Regions from separate parts of the Homo sapiens genome. Here region 2 is linked to region 1. Evidence: promoter capture Hi-C in 16 types of primary human blood cells and fetal thymus (Javierre and others, 2016). All regions are on one chromosome and are shown on one strand. The core of a region is centred on a gene start or on the middle of the fragment in contact, and the rest is flanking DNA. Distances in the headings are between cores, read along the strand shown. Region 1 overlaps MCOLN2 (mucolipin TRP cation channel 2). Region 2 holds the start of DNASE2B (deoxyribonuclease 2 beta).

The links. Contacts are between HindIII fragments. The CHiCAGO score rates a contact against its expected background, and 5 or more counts as called.
Region 2: the fragment with the promoter of DNASE2B here is called in contact with a fragment that was not itself captured in region 1 in 1 of 17 cell types (M2 macrophages); the score reaches 6.9 in M2 macrophages.

Annotation. Positions count from the first base shown.
Region 1 is chr1:84,932,545-84,936,620 of GRCh38, reverse strand. All of the region lies in intron 11 of MCOLN2 (mucolipin TRP cation channel 2), which reads left to right. Among named protein-coding and RNA genes, the nearest start is that of LPAR3, 41 kb to the right of the region's middle. The HindIII fragment of the contact is 4,456 bases long and covers 192-4,076 here.
Region 2 is chr1:84,396,419-84,400,494 of GRCh38, reverse strand. DNASE2B (deoxyribonuclease 2 beta) reads right to left here and starts at 2,011. Exons shown (of 6, transcript NM_021233.3): 1 at 1,806-2,011. The coding sequence starts at 1,930. The HindIII fragment of the contact is 1,924 bases long and covers 1,224-3,147 here.

The DNA of each region.
Region 1 (4,076 bases), core at 1,170-3,669:
ACAAAGTGACAACCTCTGGGTTGGTAGTAAATCTTGATAATATTGCTCTTCATACTCCATGTCACTGCTTTAAAGGTGACTCATGAGAAAAAATTATTCTTTGATATGATCTCTCTGATTTGGAGAACTTACTGTCTTAGAGCCTGGAAAAATGTATTTTTCTTCCTTGCTTGCCTCATGCTCTGAAAGCTTTTCCACCTCTTTGTCACTAGAGGGCAGTGTTGCACTGTGTGGAATAAATACCGTTCCTGAGGATTCGGCTTTAATTCACTGACTCCAAGGTCTGTGGACAAGTGGTCCCATCTCCTTTGCACCCCATCCCCGTCTCCCCTACCTCATCATTATTCTGGAAGGTGCTCAGATAAGATTGCTAGAATTTTACTAGATGGCTACCATTCTCAAGTGCTGTCTGTTAGGCATGGTGCCCAAGATTCTTCATCTCCCTTGCTGTGTTAACCCTTCCCTCCCCTTCTCTGTGAAGAAATCTGATTGTCCTGTTACAGAGAATAGGCACCTTAATATATTAAATAATATTCCTGAGATTACCCAGCTAGAAAGTGGCAGAGATGGGATTCAAACCCAGGTCGGCCTGACTCCAGTACCTGTGCTTTGACCCATACCCTGTAGAGCTTTTCTTGGTATTATCTAAAACAGATCATTGCAAGAGAGCATTTAGCCTGACAAGAAACAGTCTTGTACTTGGAGATCAACTGTGAGAGGACAGCCATGTAATCGGCTTCATTCTTTCAATGGTGTCAAGGTCACCTCATGGAAAATGAGGTTATTTGTTTTGTGAGCCTGACTGCATTTCCATATGTTCAATTTGTCCTTTCAAAGGATCCAGGTGAAACTGGGATGCTCTGAGCCAGCACTGTCCAAGAAAAATACAGTTTGGGCTACAATTGAGAGCCTTGCCTATACTGTAAAATTTTCTAGTAGCTACATGAAGAAATAAAAAAACAGATGAAATTATTTTTAATTATATATTTTAAGCCTAATATACCCAAAATATTATTTCAGCATGTATTCAGTATAAAATATTGAAATATTTTACATTCCTCCATACTAGTCTTTTTGATCTGGTGGATATTTTATCCACATAGCACGTCTCAATTTGGACTAGCTATCTATTGGATGCTGGCTATTCACACATTCCTGGTGACTACCACTATGGACATTGCAGCTCTAGACTTATGTCTTTCACTTAATGTTAGCTTTCCTTTATACCCCTGGAGGAGGGGAGGGATAAGGGATGTCTGTAGGGTTGCCTGCAGGTCTGTTTATGGCATCTCTCACCAGGCTGATATATTGGGGAAATACACAGCTGAGTTAATTCACTGAATGTACAAGTCAGTTGGGGGAGAGAACGTCAGTCTGGTTTTGGAACTTTGTGCTTTTCTTCACCATATTGCTGCCTCTTTGAATCTGAAGTTAGAATATTTTATTGCCCCTTGCATCCTTTCCCCCAAATTAATCCAAGCTGTCAGCATGTTCAGGTTCTGCCAGTATCTGAATCAGAGGACTTTCAGGTTACCTGAAGCCTTGAAAAGCTAGGCATTCCAAGCGGGCATTTTTGTGGGATTTTTAGAATCACAGCAACCTTGATTGTGAAAGCTAATTCTTTCTTTAAAACAAAACAACTAAAAAGGAGACATTAGGAAAACCGTTTGACTGATAGCTGGGGTCCCATAACACTTCAGCTTCCTATCTTCCTGTTAGGCATCTGATTTCAGGGGCTCAATGGAAAGGGAGTCAAGATGCAAAAGGCTTCCTGCTGATGTGTATTCCCAGCACTAATGGACTTTGGCACAGTGCCCTTTCAAAATGCCTGGGCACAGAGGGTGAGAGACTGTTGATGTTCTTCCAGACCTCATCTTGAATTATTAAACATTACTCTAATGCGGCTTTTACATTTCCAGAGGACTTTTTTTCCTGTGAGGAATAAATCATAGCCTTGCATTGTCCCCATTTTACAAATGAGAAGACCAAGACTTGAAAAGTTGTTGGACTTCACTGATGCCATGGGTCAAAGTTCAGCAGACTCTGCATTACATTTTCCTCCTTCCAAGCCCTCTGGTTTTAGCCAAGTACCCCTCAGCTAAAACATTTTGCCTAAAGTTTGCATGAGATTCTTGGCACCAGCTCTTAAAGCAAATATTTATGTTGTTCTCTGACATAAGCCATTGCAGGTTATGGTTTCATTGAAATTAAAGGTTTTTGGCCCAACTGCAAACTTATCATTTGTGAAATGAATGGTTGAGTTCTCATCGTGGGCCCAGAGAACCTATGGGGACTCTTTATGGAAATACCCATTTAATACGTATTAAATATCTACTGTGCACCCAACATTGCTAGGTTCTTGTAGACCAAGTTCTTGGAGGGAAGGAACTGTAGTTTGTTCCTCTTTACATTCCCAGTGTCCAGCACAGCACATAGACCATGGTAGGTGCCCAAAAAGTTTGTTTTGAACAAACAAGAAGCAGAGAGAGAGTAGTACCTGCTTTCCAGGGGCTTATGATCACTCAAGATCCAAAGGAATGCCTTACAAATGTGGTCCTTCTAGACTGGAAGCACATTAGGACCTTGAGTATTTTTAAGCTCACTTCTACTATGGAATTTGGCCACTGAAATAGACTCTGGTTCACAGCCACTTCTTGTACAAAATGGCAGGGTGTTACCAAACACCTAAAATTGACTGGGTCTCTGTTTTAACTCTTTGGTGTGTTAAAATAATTCTCATGTTCACAAGAGGAGGGGGAGGTAAAATGGTTATGAATAATGTTAATGTTGAGACAGATATTGTGTGTAGCCTGGTAAGTAACTAAACAGAAAATTAAAAAATGAATGTGACATGTACTGACAAACTAGCTATTTGCAGTTGAAACCTGAAGCACAGACAGTTGTGCTTGGAGTTAGGGGTTCTTGAAACTAGAGAAAGGAGTTGACTGGATTCCAAAAGAAACTAAGAAATGTGAATTATTAATGGTGCTGTCAGAGTTGTAGTTGACATCCATAGAAACCAACTTTAATGTCAATGTTTTCAGCTTTAACTTCAATGTTTTAAGGCTTGTGTAGCGTATGGAAAATATTTACTCTGGCAATCGCCTGTTTTACTGTTAAATAATCTACATATTGTTAAGTGATCTGTTCATTTGGATATTTCCTCTAGGTCTTTTTGGAGGAGGACTTTAGTTCATCAGAGTTTTTGCTGATGCAGCAAAGCCATGGGTGGGATCCTTGTTTGGGGTGCGTTTGTAGACCTTCTCCCTTGGCCACCAACTTTACCTTGCCTGGTCCAGCCACGTGGCTGGTAGTGTAAGGCACGGTGTTTGTATCTAGTTGGAGTACAGGGAAGTGTGTATAAAAACAATTAGAAGACCATAGTTCATTCTGTGATTCTTACCGATACGGAGTGCAGAGAAAGGACTAGAACTACCAGGGCACTTGGTCTTGAAGTACACTCTGAAATGACCCTTGAACATTGGCTTAATTGGACACAGAGAAGAGAAAGAAGAATAGAGCAGGTGAGGAGAATAAATTCCATGAGGGAAAAATGTAGGGATGGGCCTGGTGTTGGAGGAGAAGATAAGCACAGCATATTAATACTGTCAAGGAGGAGATGTGATGAGGCTGCATAAAGGAGGAACTTATCACAACCTTCTTGGTTTAGATTTTTATTTTGCATCCAAACTTTGTATAATCTCACAAGGGAGAAATGACCTGAAAGCCTTCTTCTTAAAGTACAGGTTTTACTGCAGCTTTGACTGGGGAGGGTAAAGAGATTGGAGTAAAAGAGACTTCCTTGGAAGTTTCTTTAATAATTCAGAAATTTGTGTTGACATCACAGTAGAGTAGTAAGGGTGGATTGGAGAAACATGTGATAGGAACAGACAGGCCTTAGAAGACTGAAAGCGGGGAAGAGTAATCAATTCAACACAGAGTTTTAAGGACTTAATTATTTCAGAGTAAATGTTTCTTTGGTAGGAGATTGGAATCACTGACAGAAATAGGGCAATTTAGAAAAAAAAGTTCATTTTTCTGGTTAGGGTGGTGAAAAGTTTTGTTTTGTTGGCATT
Region 2 (4,076 bases), core at 762-3,261, 540 kb after region 1:
TTATAATATTTTGCTCCAAATCTGCTCATCCCACACTATTAGGGAACATATTCATGCAGTCTCAGAAGCAGAAGCCTAAAATTATTTCTTTCTTTTTCTTTCTTGTTTTGTTTTTTGTTTTTTTTTGAGACGGAGTCTCATTCTTGTTATTCAGGCTGGAGTGCAATGGCACGATCTTGGTTCACCACAACCTCCGCCTCCTGGGTTCAAGCAATTCTCCTGCCTCAGCCTCCCATGTAGCTGGGATTACAGGCATGCGTCACCATGCCTGGCTAATTTTGTATTTTTAGTAAAGATGGGGTTTCTCCATGTTGGTCAGGCTGGTCTTGAACTCCTGACCTCAGGTGATCTGTCTGCCTAGGCCTCCTAAAGTGCTGGGCTTACAGGCGTGAGCCACCACGCCTGGCCAACCTAAAATTATTTCTTAACATCTCCCTTTCTCCTACTGGCTGCAGCCCATCCATCACCAAGTCTTCTCAGCATGTCCTTCTTTCTATTTCCATGACCGCTTCTTTAACTCAGGTCTACACCTCTTCTCACCTGTAATGCTGCAAAAGTGCTCCTGGTCTCAGTGATTCTAGGCTGCTCCCCATCCATCCAGCCCTCATAGTACTGCCAATGGGTTTCCTAAAGTGCAAATCTGACCATTCACACCCCTGCGTGAAGTCCTCCAATAGCTCCCTTTCAATGTCAAGTTCAAACCTTGTAGCTCAGCACACAGACCCCTTGGCTGTCCCCACCTCTCTAACCTCACCTCCGGTCATCTTCCTGTATTCTCCTGAAGTTCCAGCAATACCAAACTACTTTGCAACTCCCAAATTTCCATGTTGCTTCTTGCCTCTCTACCTCCTCATTGCTCCTTCATTGGCCTGAGATGCTCTTGCACATCCCTTCTTTTTCCAGCTACTTCTTAATTGTTCTTAAAACTTAGCTCAAAAATTACATCCTTAGAGAAGTTTTCTGGGCTCTCTGTTCCCCAGTGTTCCACCTATGCCCTTACCACATAACTGTGAGGTCCTTGAGGGTAGGAACCATGTTTCGTTCATATTTATATTTTCAAAACTCCACACAGACCTCTGTTGAGCTCAGTAACTGAGGAAAGACTGACTACTGCCTTGAGTATATCTGTGTTCTGTAGCCTGAAGTTTACACAAAAAGCTTGACACCAACCATTATGGCAAACCTAAATATCCCAATTAAAGGGTGAAAAAGTAGTTAAAGCTTTAGGAGAACCCATGACTATAATGCAACACAGCATTTAATGTCTTTGACACTGTACAACAGGCCAGTGGCCTACGTACCAATCATGGCAACAGCTGCCTCTGCTTCCAAACAAACCGATGTTAGGCAAACAGTGCTGTGTGTGACCAGGTCCCCCTTCTCTTTCTCATAAGGAGCAGCACATGCTCCATTTTCAGAAAAAAATAATCTGCCTTCTTTACTCTGTCAGTCTTTCAAAGGATGTTGGAAGTGTTCTGTTAGGAAAAGCCATGATGTAATTAAAAGAAATTGCCAGCTCACAGAAGCTGTCAGCTCAATCCCACTTCTGTGGCTACCAGCCTTGCCCCGCTGAGAACAGTGAATCAGGCCCAAGAGGGGCTGCTCAGCTCTTTTTCAGGGGGAAACTCCGTCACTCAGAAGCCTACCCCTGCCTGGGAGTTTGGCCGATTTGCACACTTTAACTTCCTTTATTTGTAAAGGGAGGAAAGAGAATGGACATTCCCCTTAGGAACTTCGCAGTGAGCCAGGCCAACTCTGTACCGAGGCTGTTTGCATGCAGCAGTCCTTCCATTTCATTTACCTACCAGTCCACAGCTTTCCCTTCTTCATTTCTGCATGAAATTGTTGCTGCCCCCAGCACCCCAAAGAGGCCAAGGAAGAGCAAAGCAAAGGATGTTCTTAGCAGTCTTGCCATCATTTTCTGTTTCATTTATTTCATGCCACAGCAGGACACTTTCCCCATAGATTGTGGAGTCTGAGTTTCAAGGCGCTCTCAGGCTGTGCTGGCTCTGACGTTTGATTTGATTTACCTGTGCTGTTCGCTGTTCGGGGCATTTTCAGAGTGGGATGGATCCCATGTAATTGTGCGATTCTGTCACAACATGCCAGCGTGACTCTGGATGCCTTTGTGCTGAATTGTTGACTGGTTTGCAAAGTCATCAAAAAGTTCTGCAGAAAAATAGGGAAAGATAGTTCACTCTTTGGAGTGAACATTGTTGTATGAAATTCATTGGGCAGGGGGACTTCATTTTAATAAGTAGATGTTAAATATATTTCATGTCTTCTCCTGTTTGACTCAATGAATGAGAGCAAATGCAGGTGGTTCGTACATTAAACAGAAATGATAAAACCTTATGTCTTAGTAATAATTAGGATCTGTCACTTAATAATCTCTGTCTTAAGGAACCAGTTGCTAAGGGATACTTCAAAGGGTTGCTTCAAAGTAACAGTAAATTTAACTGTATTTTACCAAAGATGTTTACATATTCTCTCCATCTTCCTGGTTTTAGCCACTCAATGTGGTGCTTCAGGCTGCTATGCAATAGGTAAACATATTGATCACCCACTCTTCAGGTTAATAAAAAATGTTACAAACATCTATTTTGCCCAAACTATGCTTTCTCATTCTCGAAGCTGAATCTGAAGTAGAAAACCAAAATAAAATGGCCCACTACCATAACAACTATAAAAAGGTGAGACCAATTTCTTTGTGAATCAGGGAAGGAGTAGATAGACATATGAAAATAATTTCTTTAATGCATACTTTTGCATCAATTATTAAAGCTGCCATCATAATAAATAGCAGTTTACATCATGCCTGGAAATAATGCTGCCCCTAATCTGTCTCTCTGATAATCACAATGATAACTATAATAGTTCCAGATCAGAGGATCCAGACCAAACTGAACCCTTGTAAATCAGATTACCTCTGTGGTTGCACTAGAACTGTTCACAATTCTCAGGATTCATAGAAAAGGGGAAGGCTTGTGTCTCTATCCTAAGACAGAGTTTTGGGAGGAGGACTCTGTACCACCTGCCCAATTACCTGTGGTGCCTGCAAAAAAGGCAGAATTCTAGGACTTATTCCAAACCTGCTACATCAGAATTCTTCCAGTTGGGCTCAAGAATCTATATTTTTAATAAGCTTATTGGTGATGCTGGTGTACCCTAAAGTTTGAAACTCACTGCCCTGAGGCCAAGACTATGCTGTATTTGGTAGATTCACAGCTTTCTGCAGGTTAAATGAAGAAATATTTTTCTTACCCATTCCTCCATTGGTATTATTATTATTATTATTTTGAGATGAAGTTTTGCTCTTGTTGCCCAGGCTGGAGTGTACCCACCTCGGCCTGGGAATCCATCCACCTCGGCCTCCCAAAGTGCTGGGATTACAGGCATGAACCACTGTGCCTGTTCTCATTTTGTTTTATATATTTTCTTCCTGTGTTCAGAAAAAAGGATTTCAACAACCCCAACCTTTTTGTCAATTTTTAAAAGTTTTTTTAAAAATTATCAGCTGGACGCAGTGGCTTATGCCTGTAATCCCAAAACTTTGGGAGGCTAAGGCAGGAGGATTGCTTGAGCCTGGGAGTTCAAGACCAGCCGGGGCAACATAGCAAGAATGTATCTCTACAAACAATAAAAAAAAAATTAGTCGGGCATAGTGGCACATGCCTGTAGTCCCAGCTGTTCAGGAGGCTGAGGTGGGAGGATTGCTTGAGCCCAGGAAGTGGAGGCTGCAGTGAGCCATGATGGTACCACTGCACTTTTGCCTGGGTGACAGAGTGAGATTGTCTCAAATATATATATATATGTATGTATGTATGTATGTATGTATACTGAGAGAGAGAGAGAGAGAGAGAGAGAGAGAGAGAGAGAGAGAGAGAGAGATTACTCTTCTCTGTTAAAGTAAACACAGAGTCTTGCTGTGTCGCCCAGGCTGGAGTGCGGTGGTGCAATCTCAGCTCACTGCAACCTCCACCTCCCACGTTCAAGTGGTTCTCCCACCTCAGCCTCCTGGGTAGCTGGGATTACAGGTGCCCACCACCAGGCCCGGCTAATTTTTGTATTTTTAG